Linked DNA regions of Homo sapiens: regions 1, 2 and 3 are each linked to region 4. The links are contacts of gene promoters, found by promoter capture Hi-C in blood cells and fetal thymus (Javierre and others, 2016). All regions are on one chromosome and are shown on one strand. Each heading gives the region's core, a stretch centred on a gene start or on the middle of the fragment in contact. The rest is flanking DNA. Distances are from core to core; before and after follow the strand shown. Region 1 overlaps PLCL1 (phospholipase C like 1 (inactive)). Region 2 overlaps PLCL1 (phospholipase C like 1 (inactive)). Region 3 overlaps PLCL1 (phospholipase C like 1 (inactive)). Region 4 holds the start of MARS2 (methionyl-tRNA synthetase 2, mitochondrial).

Region 1 (3,758 bases), core at 460-2,959, 360 kb before region 4:
GCTTTCTGACTTATTTATTTGGTCTGGAAAGTTGAAAGCCTTACTCATCCTGGATTGAGAGTACCCCTTGGACTAAAGAAGTTTTTTTAAAGAAGTTTCCTAAAGTATTCTGGCAAGGTGGCAACTAAACCAATCCAGAAAGGACTACCACCAAAGAAAATGAAAAACTTAGATTAATATTATTCTGATTTGCTAAAAATTTCCCTTCCTTCAAATAGAGTGGAGCTTTTCTCTCTATCCTAATCTTAGAGGATGTTGAGTGTGTCCATTATTCCCTACAATGCAGTCTACAGAATGTAGGTTTGTGTATTTGCATAGTCTATGTTCTTGAAGACTACATAAATCTTAGCTGCCCCTCAGTCTTATTCTGTATTTCAAAAATCCTAATCCCTTGAATTTTCTGTCTCCACAAGCTTCTGTCTCCATAAGCTTCCCTATACCAAACGGTCCACTGAAATTATTTGCTCCAACAATTCATTTGCTGAGGATAAATGGGTGCTCTCTTGTCTGCAAAACATAAAGACTTTCATTCAGTCTTTGCTTTAAATTAGTTAAAATCCTATAGAAGAAGTACAGTCATAAATGAATCACAGTTAATAATTAATACAATTTTGGCAAAGTTCCACAAAACTAAAATAGTACTCTCCTTTTGGCCCTGGAAACAAATTTTACTTAAATTTTCAAACATACTAAGACTATAACAATGGTGCGGTTAGTGGGAATCAATAGCTTCCTAGATTTTGTAGTTAAATTTGACCTCAACAAAATGAAAATTATTAAATTATATAGAATTTCTAATAGATTATAAAGTGAACATTTTAATTGTGGCTAAGCCTTAAATTACAAGCATATCAAATAGAGAATAAAAACATAAAGTTCACTGTTATTTGCACTGGTAATATGGACAAAATCTATTAATGCCTAAGACAGGATAGAAATGAAGATTTTTTTAAGTTGCAAACTAACCTCTGTTAAATTCCCGAATTAAGGAGCTCAATCTGATGAATAAAATAGTAACCTAGTCAGTAAATCTAAGTCACATTTGACTTTTGATGAGCTTATGGAAGGTAAACAAACTAGGATATAAGGCACTATAATGGAACTTGGAGGACTAGGGACTTATGTTTTAGTTTTGTTAATTGCTCCATCCTTAACACCTACTATTATTATATGAACTTTCTTATTCACAGGTTTCTTGCCTGTCTCCCAGAGCTCCCTGAGAGTGGATATCCCCAGTACCTGCCACCATGCCTGGCACCTCTCAAGCAGTCAATAAATACTTGTTGAATAAAAGTTTGTAGAAATCCCATAGCTATGTACTATAATGATTACTAGCTTATTGAACATTCCTATGGCAACAGAACGGGCCCTAAGAGGTGAAAGCAAGATTGGAACCCAGATATCTGACTCCTGGAGTACTTGCTCTTAACCAGTACTCCAGGAGTTCAATTCTGTGGGAACACTATCTCCACATAAGGCTTCTGCCTGAACATTGGATTTTACACCCAAATTGGCTTTTCTATTTCAAATCATCAGAGAGGATAAAAATACTTCCCATGAAAAGCTGATGGAACACAGTATACAAATTTAAATAATGGTATGAACCCTAAATATGATGGCTATGTTTCTTTCTTAGAAAACTAAGTTTACAAATATGTCATTAGTCATGTGTGTAAAAAGAGCAGGTAGCAATCATTTTATCCTCACTGACATGAAAAACAGCTCTCACATGATTGGTTTCTCCATGTCAACATTATTTTCCTCTTTTCAGTATCTGAACTTTCAGAATCTCAACAGTAATGATTCAGACAAAGCATTCAAATTAATCAATGCTATCATACTTGTACAGCCAAGTGACCTTTCTCTTCTCCTTGCAAAGTAAACAGTTAGCTTGACTTTTAATACATTCACTTTGAGTTTGCTTCTGATTATGTTGTTTTGCTGGGTTCTGGTTATTCTAGGACACAGTTATTACTGTGCAGACCACTCACTCTCCCTTGAACCTACTTATCAGCCTCCTCCTTGCTCTCATTTCTGCCTCCTTCTTCTCGGTTTCCATCTGTGCTCCATATTTATTCAAGGTAGCATTTAAACCCAAGCATAATATATATGTATGAGTGTATAAATTTATTTAAGGATATTTTAAAAAATTGAAAATAAAGAGGAAAAAACTCAGTAAAGTATAGTATTAAGTACTTAGTATAGTATTAAGTAACTATACTAAAAAATTTCCAGCTATTAAATGAGACTGGAACCCAGATGTGTCTCATCTCAAGACTACATTCTTTCCACTACATCAGTGGTCCCCACAGTGTGATCTTTGGACTGCCAGCAACAGCATCACCAAGGACCTTGTTAAAAATTGCAGACTTTCAGACTCTACACCCACTGGATCTGGGGGTGGGGTTCAGAAATTTTGGGTTTTAATAAGACAAGGGTGATTCTGATACACCCTTAAGTTTTACTGCATTACATCATTGGTCCCAAACTTACCTGATTATAAGAATCACCTGAGATAGCTCATTGACTTAGTATATTCCCAGGTTCTACACATCTGATTCAGTAGGTTAAAGGGGGGAGGCCAGGAATTTATTTTTTTTAACAAATGATACCCTAGGCTCACCCCCAAGTGATTCTTATGGTCAGGAAAATTTGAAAACACTGCACCAAATCAGAATATTCAACTTCATACACTTATGAAAAAAACTAGACATTGCATTTAATTATATGATGGCTCCATGTTAAGAATATAAGGATACTGAAACCGTGTTTTTTCAGCACTTGAATTTTAATTCCATTGTTAGTTCAGAAAAAAAGAGGAAGGGTATTGCAATATAATAGGGAGTCACCACTTTAAATGTGTTAAGAAATATTATTTTACATAAGCAGTTCTAGAGAAGTATATATAATTGAGTTACGTATAAATTGTAGGTAACTGAGAAAAGTCCAACCTCCATTCAAATATACAGAAGTTAATAAAGAAGCTTTATTTGCATAATAAAGGATTTCTTCCTTTAAGAAAAAATTTATCACAATTGTCTTGTATAAATTTGGAGCTCCCCTAGAATAGATAAAACTTGTCTTTTAATGCACAAAATTTATCAGAAAGGATAATCTTTGCCATTTCAAAAAAATAACGTGTAAATGAGACAAATAATTTGAAGGGCAGATTTGGAGCAGTCTGGGGCTTCCTTTGAATTTCACTTTATTTCCTGGAATTAGGCTCCAGAATCTTACCATGTCCTAAACAATTCAAATTTCTGACTAATGAATTGTAGCAGTTCAATGTACTCAGATGAAGAGGAAGGGAGCCGTCATTTATTAAAGTCCAACCACTGCCGTGCTAGACAGGATGGAATACATTTCTTCTCAGTATTGTGTAATGTGTATGGAGGAAAAAGTAAGAATCAACGTACCTATTGACCCTTATAATACATTTGCAGCCAGGCTCAGTGGCTCACACCTGTAATCCCAGCACTTTGGGAGGCTGAGGCAGGCAGATCATGAGGTCAGGAGTTCGAGACCATCCTGGCTGACACGGTGAAACCCCATCTCTACTAAACATACAAAAAATTAGCCAGGTGTGGTGGCACATGCCTGTAATCCCAGCTACTCAGGAGGCTGAGGCAGAAGAATTGCTTGAACCCGGGAGGTGGAAGTTGCAGTAAACCGAGATGGTGCCATTGCACTCCAGCCTGGGCGACAGAGCGAGACTTGTCTCAAAATAATAATAATAATAATGACGATACATTTGCAAT
Region 2 (3,571 bases), core at 227-2,726, 410 kb before region 4:
TAATTTAATTGTATATTTAAAAATAACTAAAAGAGTATAATTGGTTTATTTAAAACACAAAGGATAGATCCTTGAGGGGATGGATAACCAATTTTCCATGATGTGATTATTATGCATTGCATGTCTGTACCAAAACATCTTATGTACCCCACAAATATATACACCTATGTACCCACAAAAATTATTTTTTTTAAGAGTAGACCAGGAAAAATGAAACTCCCCAGAGGTTGAAGTAAGAAAAACAGGACAAAATTTCAACCCCATGAGAAAACGGAGCTGCCAAGAACTGCAGAAACGCCCATCTTCCCAAATGACACATAGGCATCCAATGGTGACGTTGGACACAACGCCCAATATGAAGAACAAGCTTTGGTACACAGGCATCTACAGTGACCTTGGACATCATGACTGTGGATATTAAGGACAGGTTTTGGTGTCACATAGATCAAGGTGTGCATCCATCCCCACGGCTTACTAGTTAGTCGCATCATCTTGAACAACTTGCAGAGCTTCTGTAATCCTCTGCTTTCTCCTAAATCTCAGCACTGTACTAAAACACAGTCCCCACCCTGAAGGAGCAGGATTTTGTATGAGAAAAAGACATAGGGACACATCATTAACATTTAGTGAGTCAGGGTGGTGAGCATGGGAATAAAATTGTGTATAAGCTACAGATCTGGCACTATACAGGAGATAATTTGGTTTTGATGAGAATTGGAGGGTGAGGGGTATGGAGGGACAAGAGCAGGGAAGGCTTCCCTGGAAAGGCAATGGATAACACTAGTGCTGGATGTGAGTGATGAAGAGGAGCTGGTGGGTGACTGAGGAGGGAAAGAACATCACAGTTGGCAGGAACAGCAGTGCGAAGGCATGGAATCCCAAAACTGCCTGATATTTCCAAGAAACAGAACTGAGGGCCTGGAGAATATAAAATGTGAAGACACGGAGGTAAGCAAAGCCCCCATCACAGAGGACCTTCTATCCAGGTCAAGAACTTGGCATTTTTTCTTGAAGCTAACAGACTAACATCAAATCATTTCTCTCACTCAAGTCTTAGGCTTTTTAAAAGATTTATTTATTTTTAACTCTCTTAAATGAATTTAGAGCATTTTTTTCAGAAGATTAAATGAATTTAATTAAATTTTCTTACACAAGAAGGATGTATTAGATTTGAAAAGAGGACTTGATATTATTTTCCAAATGCCTACAGTTTCTGTTGTCAAGTTACAAACTGAATCAACTATGTTTGGTTGTCAAAACCAATCAAAGTTAAGATCTAGCTGAGTTACAATTGACATTTTCCTCATCTGATGTATGTAATACTCTGGATTCTTGGGCTTCTCTACTGTGCTTCAATACACAAATAACAATAGTTTCACATGAAGACACACTACTGTATATGAATCCTTTTGAAATGACTGAAGATTTATCCTAAATGTAAACCTTAGTAGGGAAAATCACTACATTAGACAATAATTATAATTAATGTAATAATAGTTAAAGGCACTCAAAACTTCATGGAGAACAAAAGGTTAGAGACAGAAAAATGCTTAGACTGACAACTTCATGGTAACTACATGACAAATCCAGAGGACACTACTCACATGCATTCAGTGGGAATGGCACCCCCTACGGTTGTGCAGTGCACAATTGACATAGGAGTATGCAGCAGCTCTGGCCAATTCAGGGATTAGACTGTTAAACCTTATGCTGCAAAAAAGAAATGACAGACAAACTGGTATAGAAATGTCTAATCAAAAGCTCCAGGAAAATAATACTGGTTGTGCTGATGTTTAACTTCAATGAAAATTCATAAAGTTTCATGTAATTAATTTTCAAGTCTCCTGTAGTTCAGAGATCTCTATGAAAACTTTTCCTGAGTATCTTTGACAAAACAGCCAAAGGATCTGACCTTCCCAGGAGCTGTTATTTAAAGAGGAAGGACAGTAGTAGTCACTTTATTATTTGCTCCTTTCTCTCTCTCCTCTCCCTCTCTCTCTTTCTGACCAGAGAAGAATCTCTAGAACAAAATTATGCTTCCTGAGATGAACCCAGCAATTTTTAAGGTGGTGGTTATTAAGTAGAGGATGACCGAATGATTTAGTATGGTTGATAAAACTGTGATTCAGTAGCAAAGACTATATTTTTCAGAATTTAAAATTGTAATTTCCATCTTGATGGCATTTGTAATTATTATATTGCTTACACATTTTTATGTTTTTCATAAGAACAGCTGAGAATACATTTAGTTAACCAAAGCCTCCAAGGAAAATTTCATTCCTCTATTATTGTTATTATCATATCTACATGTATTATTACAGAGCTTACAATAAGCAGGGTTTAATAAGTGAGTTGTTTAATATAAGAAACGAGCCTATGATATAACACATATACAAGCACACACTATGCATACATATAATTGTTCCTTTTGATGGTATTCTTCCTCTCCCAGGCTAAAATGTACTATTGATAAAGGAGAACAGGAAGGAAGTTGCTGGCTTTTTCCCTCTCTAGTTTCAGAGTACATGTAAAGACTCTATGGGCTGACTCAGAGGATACACAATATACATTGTTAAGAAGCTTCAGTCTCACCTACTCAGATTTAATACTAGGACATAGTTACCTCTAAAACATACTTTTCCTATACAAGACTTTATACGCTAGCTTTGTTTTTTAGCAGTCTTAGATATCAGTTTCTTGGTTGATAGCAAACCCACGATAAACAAGAACCTGTTTCCTGCAACATGTGTGGTAAGTGTGGAGAGCCATCTGGAAGGTAAGGGAATGAGGAAGCGGTGTGTAACCATCCATGATTTCACCAGCAAATAAACTGTATGGAACTCTCAAGTGTCTATAGGACTGTTTCAGCATATGTTCAAATTGTGCCCATCCAAGCAGTTTGGAGGAATAAACTTCTGTTACAATAATGTACCACCAGAGAACATGAGTAATTCTAACACATTCAACCTTCCCTTTCTATATATCTTTGCTTACAAAAAAGTGAAGCCCAATTGAATCTGAAAAAAAAAAAGAAAAAAAAAACAGAAAATGACTGATAGAGACCCATATTTCTGACCCAAGGAAATCAGAATTTGTTGCTGAAACCCAAGTCATATTTTCAGGGCATCCAGTATATTTTAAATGTATATGAAAAATATGTCTCTTAACACATGCTTAAGAAAAGGAGCTCAACTTTCTGAGACTAGATTTATTTGTAATTGATCAGGAATGTTTTTTGACCCAAGAAAAGGAAAATTCCCAGGCAACACATTCATGAACCAGTTTTATTCTAGTTTTTTTCATAAGGCCAGCTGCTGAGTAGCTGACAACTGGGAGATCCAGAATATTCTAGTTGATTAAGGAATCCCTCTGAGAGATTTGAATTGCAATATTTTTTCCCTGGAATACATTGTAAAGCAATTTAAGAACTTTCCATCCCTCAGTATAACTGACTCAAAAATCCATTGAGAATAGTTATCTTTTAAATAAACACTCAAAGACTTTAGCTATTTTTAGAACACATAGCTTCGTCCTGGCAGATTTACAAATCCCATCATGAGGGGTTAGTGTA
Region 3 (4,015 bases), core at 1,371-3,870, 430 kb before region 4:
GAAAACTATGGAAACTGAATATAAATAAATCTTTTTAGTTCCTGAGAATCTAATTCTCAAGAAAAAATAATTTATAAAGTATAGAAGACACTTTAAAGAAATGTTAAGAATAATTTAATGCCAAAGGGTCCACAGAAAATTGTAAAATGCAGCAGATGACATGTTTAATAAGCCATATGAAAGGCTCAGAAAATTTTGAAATCATACTCTGTTAAAATTCAACATAATGAAAATTAAATTTGAAAGAAATTTGAAAGATCTTCTTTTACCACATTTCTTTCTCAAATAACACCTGCATTGTTACAATAGCTTTCCTATCAAGCTTTCTTTGTTACAATAGCTTTATTTATCAAGAAGTCTTGGTTAACTTGAATGTTGAAGAAATGAAGGACCCTAGTTACTTCAAAATAGTAATTAACTGCATTTTAAGCAGAAAACCTTTGTATTAGCCATGTTTTTTAAAATAGTTTTAATATAAGGAGACAATTTTATGTTCTTGTATATATAGAATTCTACATATAAGTGAAGTCTTTCAACATTATTTAAACACTACTCACTAATAATAATATAATTTAAAAAACCATTAATAATCCAGTGGCAACAATGCTGACAATAGGTCCTGTTACTGGTGGAAAACATCTGTATCACTCAATAAAACCCACTGCATTGAGATGCACTTGTTGACCAGAGCTTAAAAAAGAAGTATGGGCCAGGCGCGGCCAACATGGTGAAACTCCGTCTCTACTAAAAGAACAAAAATTAGCTGGGTGTGTTGTTAGGCACCTGTAATCCCAGCTACTCAGGAGGCTGAGGCAGGAAAATTGCTTGAACCCAGGAGGTGGAGGCTGCATTGAGCCAAGATCGCACCACTGCCCTCCAGCCTGGGTGACAGAGCATGACTCCATCTCGGGGAAAAAAAAAAAAGTATGAAATTTAATGTTTCAAATTCTCATTTATTGTCCCTGTTATACCTTGTTCAAAGCTATGTATATGTGAACTGAGATACACCCATCTCTTCCCTGTGCTTTGGAAACAATGGTGGTCTCTTAGCTATTAATGAGGACTTGCACCTTAGTTTTCATTTTATTCACTTATCCAGCAAACAAATATTTATTAAACAATTACTGTATACCAGACTTTGGCCTGAGGTTCTCAATCTATCAAAACCAACCCTTTGAAACAAATACTTTGTAAGGCTTTCTTTATTTTCATAAACTTAAATTCATAGATAATATAACCTATTCATGTATTATTAAAATAAATATAATACCCTAGCTGTAATATAAAGGAGAAAAAGGGAATGGTCATTTAAAATAAAATAACATGTATTGCCATATGTGAATGTCAGGCAGGCACACCAGAAACCTGAAGTAGGCAGATGCCTGTACTTAATATGAATGCAATTAGATATGAAAGAGAAATAAGATCAGATGCCATTCCACTCAAAAAATACATATTTAATGGAAAATGATAATGCAAATGTAGAGACAGACACTAGTATGAAAACAAATAATGGCAATAGACTAGTTGTATTTGCATAGAATAAAAGAAGGAAAGAAACAACCTCAATTAAGGTCGGCATAACATGCCAAGACAAATACAAACCCTCACTGTGGAAAGAAAAAGCTGATAATCCCATAAATGAGGAAGTAAATAATGTCCATACACCACATCAAAACTGCCAAATCTTTTTTTTTTTATTTTGAGACGGAGTTTTGCTCTTGTTGCCCAGGCTGGAGTGCAATGGTGCGATCTTGGCTCACAGCAACCTCCACATCCTGGGTTCAAGCGATTCTCCTGCCTCAGCCTCCTGAGTAGCTGGGATTACAGGTACAGGCCACCAGACCCAGTTGATTTTGTATTTTTAGTAGAGATGGAGTTTCTCCATGTTAGTCAGGCTGGTCTCAAACTCCTGACCTCAGGTGATCCACCTGCCTTGGCCTCCCAAAGTTCTGGGATTACAGGTGTGAGCCACCACGCCCAGCAAAACTGCCAAATCTTTAAAAGTACTCCAAAGGTCATTGTTCTTGTGATTGATAATACCAGCTGATACTTTGTGGGGCCCAGGCGGATGCCCACCATGGATTATCAATAATAAAAAATAAGGTATCAGGTTAAAACCATTATCTGACTGCCCAATTTGTTCCAATATTACTGTGTAGCAATTATATGGTCAAGTGGACAAAATACCCAAGGTGAGTAAATTATTCAATAATTTGGAAACAATGTCTTTATTTCATTTAGACTTACCTCTCAATAACTACCTTTTACTCAAGTACTGGCCTTCAAACAACTTCTTGTAAAAAATAATAATAATTAATTAATATCATATACTAAAGTATTCTGATTTGTATTTTAGAGGGTGATATGGTTTGGCTCTGTGTCCCCACCCAAATCTCATGTTGAATTGTAAACCCTGGTGTTGCAGGAGGGGATTTGGTGGGAGGTGAATGGATCAAAGGGGCAGATTTCCTCCTTGTTGTTCTTGTGATAGTAAGTTCTCAGGAGATCTGGTTGTTTGAAAGTGTGTAACACTTCCCCTTAGCTGTTTCTCTTTCCTGCCACCATGTGAAGATGTGCTTGCTTCCCTTTTGCCTTATGCCATGACTGTAAGTTCACTGAGGCCTCCCCAGCCATGCCTCCTGTACAGCGTGAAGGACTGAGAAAACAAAACAAAACAAAACAAAAAAACCTCTTTTCTTTATAAATTACCCAGTTTCACGTAGTTCTTTATAGCAGTATGACAACTGACTAATACAGAGGGTTTACTCAGGCAGGACTTAACAGAAATCTTGCAGGACACAGGACATTTTTCATCATGTTGTACTGCCCTGCCCAGAGCATGACATCAAATATTCCTGTCTGTTTCCACTAAATGCCAGGAGAATCCTCCCAATCACCTCTACAACTTCCCAGAACACAGCCTAGGGGGCAGTACTGCACCCATTGAGAATCACCAGGCTGGACTCTGGGGGTTACAAAAGTGAGCACAGACATCATCCCTGCCCCTACGGAACCTATTTCTAGTGTGGGATACAGGTATATATAAAATAACCACAAAAATAAAGTTATATCTAACCTTAAATTATGCTAAGTACTTGAGGGAAAAGAATGTATTGCTGTGAGGACTAGGAGATTAGACAAGCCTCCCCATAAAAAGTAACAAGAAAGCAATGATTTGCAAGATGAGCAGGCATCTTCATTTATTTCTTGGCATCTTATGATCAGTGAAACACAGTACAAGGATTTTTTTATGCTTGCCTGGAGGAGAGGCAAGAATCCTCCTCCAGTCTTACAGATACAGATATACATGGTATGGGAGAGTGTTCTGGAAGGTTACCGCCTTTATGGCACAGCACCAAATTGCCTAATACATTCCATTTTTCCTTACGTTTTCTCTATTTAGGATTTATTTTGTTTCATTGACATTTATACTGAAAGAAACACTGAAAGTGGAAAACAATAAAGTGTCATTTAGTGACAGTATCACTGAGATCTGCTAAATAACCGTTCTTAGTAATTATTTCAAATTTTCGAGCCATTCGAAGGACTCCTTTTATAACCTTCAGGTGAATAAATGGACACAGGAAAGCTAAAAAAATACATTGCCCAGGTTCACACGAGAAATAAGTGTGAAGGAAATGAATAATGCCGGCTTCCCAGGCCAAGAGTTGTTTTTCTTAATCTCTATATTGTTTATTTGTTTTTTTGTGTTTTTTTATTTAATTTAGGTACATTACATGATATGGTGCACATGTCATCAAATAGATCTATTTGATCAAATAGAAAAGAAAAACTAGCTTAAGACTTCTTTGGTTTATAAAAGAATTTCTTGATAGAACTTCACAAATGTCCCAGACATAAATACTATCCTTGTGCTGATATTTTGATTTCTAACTTTTGTCTTCAGTGTGGGTACAGGGTTTGGAAGCATTTAATAATTTTAATCTGAGCCAGATTTTCGGAAAACTGAAATACAAAAGCAATGATAGAGGATTCATGAGTGGGATAAGTG
Region 4 (3,637 bases), core at 141-2,640:
GCTCACCAGAGCATAATCCTCTGCCTGAGCACGAACTGACGGCCCCACCAACCCTGGCTCACTAGGGAAGCAGGTAGTGCAGAAGGCTGGGTAGGTCTCAGAAGGATTTATTCTTTTGGCAGTGCATCGGTTCAAGAGACCTCCCAAGGCATCTGCCAGCTCGGAGTTCAGCAACTTAACCACCTTTTCATCATAGTAGTCACAGTCCCAGTTGGGGACGCCCTGCCGAAGGAGAAAGTAGCGGAAGCCATCCACGGTATAGCGGTTAAGGCAAGTCCTAGGATCCACCACGTTGCCCAAGCTCTTGGACATCTTTTGGCCACAGACTGTCCAGTGGGAATGGACACAGATGCGCTGTGGCGGGCTCATGCCGGCCCCTAACAGGAAGGCAGGCCAATAGATGGCATGGAATTTGAGAATGTCCTTACCTATGATATGAGAGGTGGCCGGCCACCAAGATTTGAACTCAGCATTTGGGTAGCCAATTACAGTGAGGTAGTTGACCAGGGCATCCAGCCATACATAGATGGTCTGCGAATCATCCCCGGGCACCGGAATGCCCCAGTGCAAGTGGCTACTTCTGCGAGACACGGACAGGTCGGGCAGCTCCTCGTCCAGCCACTGAAGAACTACGTGATGAAATGGTTCGGGGGTGATCGCCTGAGGGTTGCCCCGCAGCCACCGCTGGAGTGGCTTCCGGAACTGGGAAAGCCTGAAAATGTAGTTTTCTTCCTTGGTCCAGGAGACTGGATGCCCGCTCTCGAGAGATACAGGAAACGAATCCCCCGATGGGCCCGGCTGCTGGGTGACCTTGGCCTCAGGCAGGAAGCACTCGTCGGAAGCGCAATACCAACCTTCATAGACGCCCTTGTAGAGCAGACCGCGGGACTTAAGCACCCCCCAGAAGTGCTGCACAGCCACCCGGTGCCGGGCCTCCGTGGTGCGGATGAAATCTGTGCAGGAGATACCGGCCTCCTGGAAAAGCTGCTGGAACTGCTCAGAGACTCGGTCGCACAGCTCGGTCGGGGCCAGGCCCGCGGTAGCTGCTGCCTGCTGAATCTTCAGCCCGTGCTCGTCGGTACCAGTGGAGAATCGCGTGGCGGCCGTGCTGGGACCTCGGAGGCGACGGTGGCGGCATAGGGCGTCCGCCAGTAGTGCCGAGTACAGGTGCCCGATGTGCGGCGCCGCGTTCACGTAGAAAATGGGTGTAGTGAAGTAGGCGCGCACATCACAAGCATCATCGCCGGCACTGAGGGAGCCCGAACTGTAGTAGCGTGGGCCGAAGTCCTCCAGGAGAGACAGCCTACTAGCCCCCGTGCGTCCTAGCAGGCGGAGGACGGACGTTCGCAGCATGGTGCAGACCGGCCGCAAGCGGAGGAGGCGGCGTTCTGACAGCACGTGTGAGAGGCGCATGCGCAGCCGGGTCGCGCCGCAGCTTCCGGCCGGAAAGCCAATGAAACGCGGCCCCGAGCGCCGGCCCTCACCGCCCTCCCCGCCCGGCCCCGCCCCGCCCGCGCCTGCGCCGTCCGCACGCCGAAAGCCGCGGCGCCAGAGGCCGCCAATGGACGGCGGCTTGCCAGAAAAACAGCTCAGAGTTGCCGGGTTTAGGAGAGGCTATGAAAGAAGACGAACCTCTTTGCCTTCGTATAACATACTGTGTTTCCTGCTTTGGATTGTAATTTTATATTTATGAATCTGTTTCCCCCTCTAGGCTGAGCTGCTTGTAGGCAAGAGTTTTATATTCAGCCGTTTGTCTAAACCCCGTCCGTGGCTGGCATACTGCAAGACAGAGTATTGCTCTGCACATGCCCTGTCGATATCTAAAATGTCACCTAAATTTTATCTCAGAGCCTAAATCAATCTGTAAGGGAGGGAGAGAGAAAAAAGATGAAAAATCATTACCTACAGCATTTTGAGAGAAGGATAAGAACTGAGAATGGAAGAGAAGTCTTTAAACAGTTTTTGTTGAATCAACAAAAGTAGATTTGTGATCTGCCAAGTTCTTGCCAAAGTTTATTGAGATCCAGGAAAGTAGAGTGCAATATGCTGTCACTGTGCATATAAAGAATAATTTTCAAATTTATTTCTCAAAAAGTTAATTTTTTTAATGGTCTTGAAGTTCTTTTAAAATAGTGTTTCTCAAGTTTGCTTTTAGTAATGGAACCTTAGAATTTTTTTTAGGGGAGGAAACCTCAGGAGCCCAGAATTGAATTAATGTTAATCCCTAGTTCATAACACACTCTCATCTTTGATCTTTTTTTTTTAATTTAATTTAAGTAGCATATACATTTAATAATAAAATGGAGCAGCTATGAACCTACAACCCAATCTAAGAACTACAAGTGGTTTCAGAGTGTGGTCCCCAGAGCAGCAGAACTGGCAGCACCTGGAACTTCGTTCGATATGTATATTCTTAGGCCCCATCCCCCACATACTGAACCAGAAAACTCTGAGGGTAGGGCCCAGTAATTTAGATTTTAAGGTGATTCTGATGCACATTAAAGTTTGAGAAACACTGAACTAGAAAATTACCAGTGATTTAGATCTGTGTGCTCCTTTTCTTCTCGTACTGTCCTCCCTGAGGTAGTCATTGTCCTGAATTTTGTTCTTGCACATTTGTGTGATCACATACAAAGTATGTCTAAGTAACATTGTTTAATTTTGCTTGCATTTAAATATTCTAAAAAGGATATAATACTACATGTAGTCTTCAACTTGCCTTTTTATTCAACATTTTGTTGCTATATTAATCCATGTTGTTGCATGTAACTGCATTCATATGTTCTTAATACATGTTGCATGTAATTCATTCATTTTGACTGCTGTATAATAACCTTTGACTGAACACATATGGTAACTTGGATCTGATTTCTCTAGTGATATGATGAAAGGTGGACCAATCGAATTCTGTATAAGAGATATAAAAAATAACTTTGGATACTCAGTTGATGTGCTCTTATTTAATCCAGCAGTTTAAGAATGACCTACAACCATCTGGTCTTCAACAAAGTTGATAAAAACAAGCAATGGGCAAAAGACTCCCTATTCAATAAATGGTGCTTGGATAACTAGCTAGCCATATACAGATGAAACAGGACCCCCTTCCTATACCATATACAAAACTCAACTCAAAATGGATTAAAGACTTAAATGTAAAACCTAAAACTAAAAACCTTAGAAGGTAACCTGGGAAATACCATTCTGGACATAGGACCTGACAAAGATTTCATCATGAGGATGCCAAAAGCAATTGCAACAAAAACAAAAATTGACAAATGGGACCTAATTAAAGAGTTTCCGCACCACAAAATAAACTATCAACAGAGTAAGCAGACAATCTACAGAATGGGAGAAAATATTTTCAAACTATGAATCCAAGAAAGGTCTAATATCCAGAATCTATAAGGAATTTTAAAAATCAATAAGCAAAAAACCTCATTAAAAAGGCAAAGGACATAAACAGACACTTCTCAAAAGAAGATAGACATGCGGCCAACAAGCATATAAAAAATGCTTAACATCACTCGTCATTACAGAAATGCAAATCAAAACCACATTTAGATACCATCTCACACCAGTCAGAATGAATATTATTAAAAAGTCAAAAAACAACAGATGCTGGCAAGGTTGCAGAGAA

Evidence for each region. The method cuts DNA at HindIII sites, captures the fragments that hold promoters and counts their contacts. A CHiCAGO score of 5 or more calls a contact.
Region 1: a contact is called between a fragment that was not itself captured here and the fragment with the promoter of MARS2 in region 4, in 1 of 17 cell types (neutrophils). The highest score is 5.4, in neutrophils.
Region 2: a fragment that was not itself captured here is called in contact with the fragment with the promoter of MARS2 in region 4 in 3 of 17 cell types (monocytes, neutrophils and naive CD4 T cells); the score reaches 6.5 in monocytes.
Region 3: a contact is called between a fragment that was not itself captured here and the fragment with the promoter of MARS2 in region 4, in 1 of 17 cell types (neutrophils). The highest score is 8.7, in neutrophils.

Annotation. Positions count from the first base shown.
Region 1 is chr2:198,061,582-198,065,339 of GRCh38, reverse strand. All of the region lies in intron 1 of PLCL1 (phospholipase C like 1 (inactive)), which reads right to left. Among named protein-coding and RNA genes, the nearest start is that of PLCL1, 260 kb to the right of the region's middle. The HindIII fragment of the contact is 2,555 bases long and covers 432-2,986 here.
Region 2 is chr2:198,116,799-198,120,369 of GRCh38, reverse strand. The region is part of intron 5 of PLCL1 (phospholipase C like 1 (inactive)); the gene reads right to left. Among named protein-coding and RNA genes, the nearest start is that of LINC01923, 260 kb to the left of the region's middle. The HindIII fragment of the contact is 2,213 bases long and covers 370-2,582 here.
Region 3 is chr2:198,136,845-198,140,859 of GRCh38, reverse strand. The region is part of intron 5 of PLCL1 (phospholipase C like 1 (inactive)); the gene reads right to left. Among named protein-coding and RNA genes, the nearest start is that of LINC01923, 240 kb to the left of the region's middle. The HindIII fragment of the contact is 4,592 bases long and covers 325-4,015 here.
Region 4 is chr2:197,703,122-197,706,758 of GRCh38, reverse strand. MARS2 (methionyl-tRNA synthetase 2, mitochondrial) reads right to left here and starts at 1,390. Exons shown (of 1, transcript NM_138395.4): 1 at 1-1,390. The coding sequence starts at 1,353. RefSeq lists enhancers at 987-1,106, 1,147-1,196 and a silencer at 1,337-1,576. The HindIII fragment of the contact is 9,491 bases long and covers 1-3,637 here.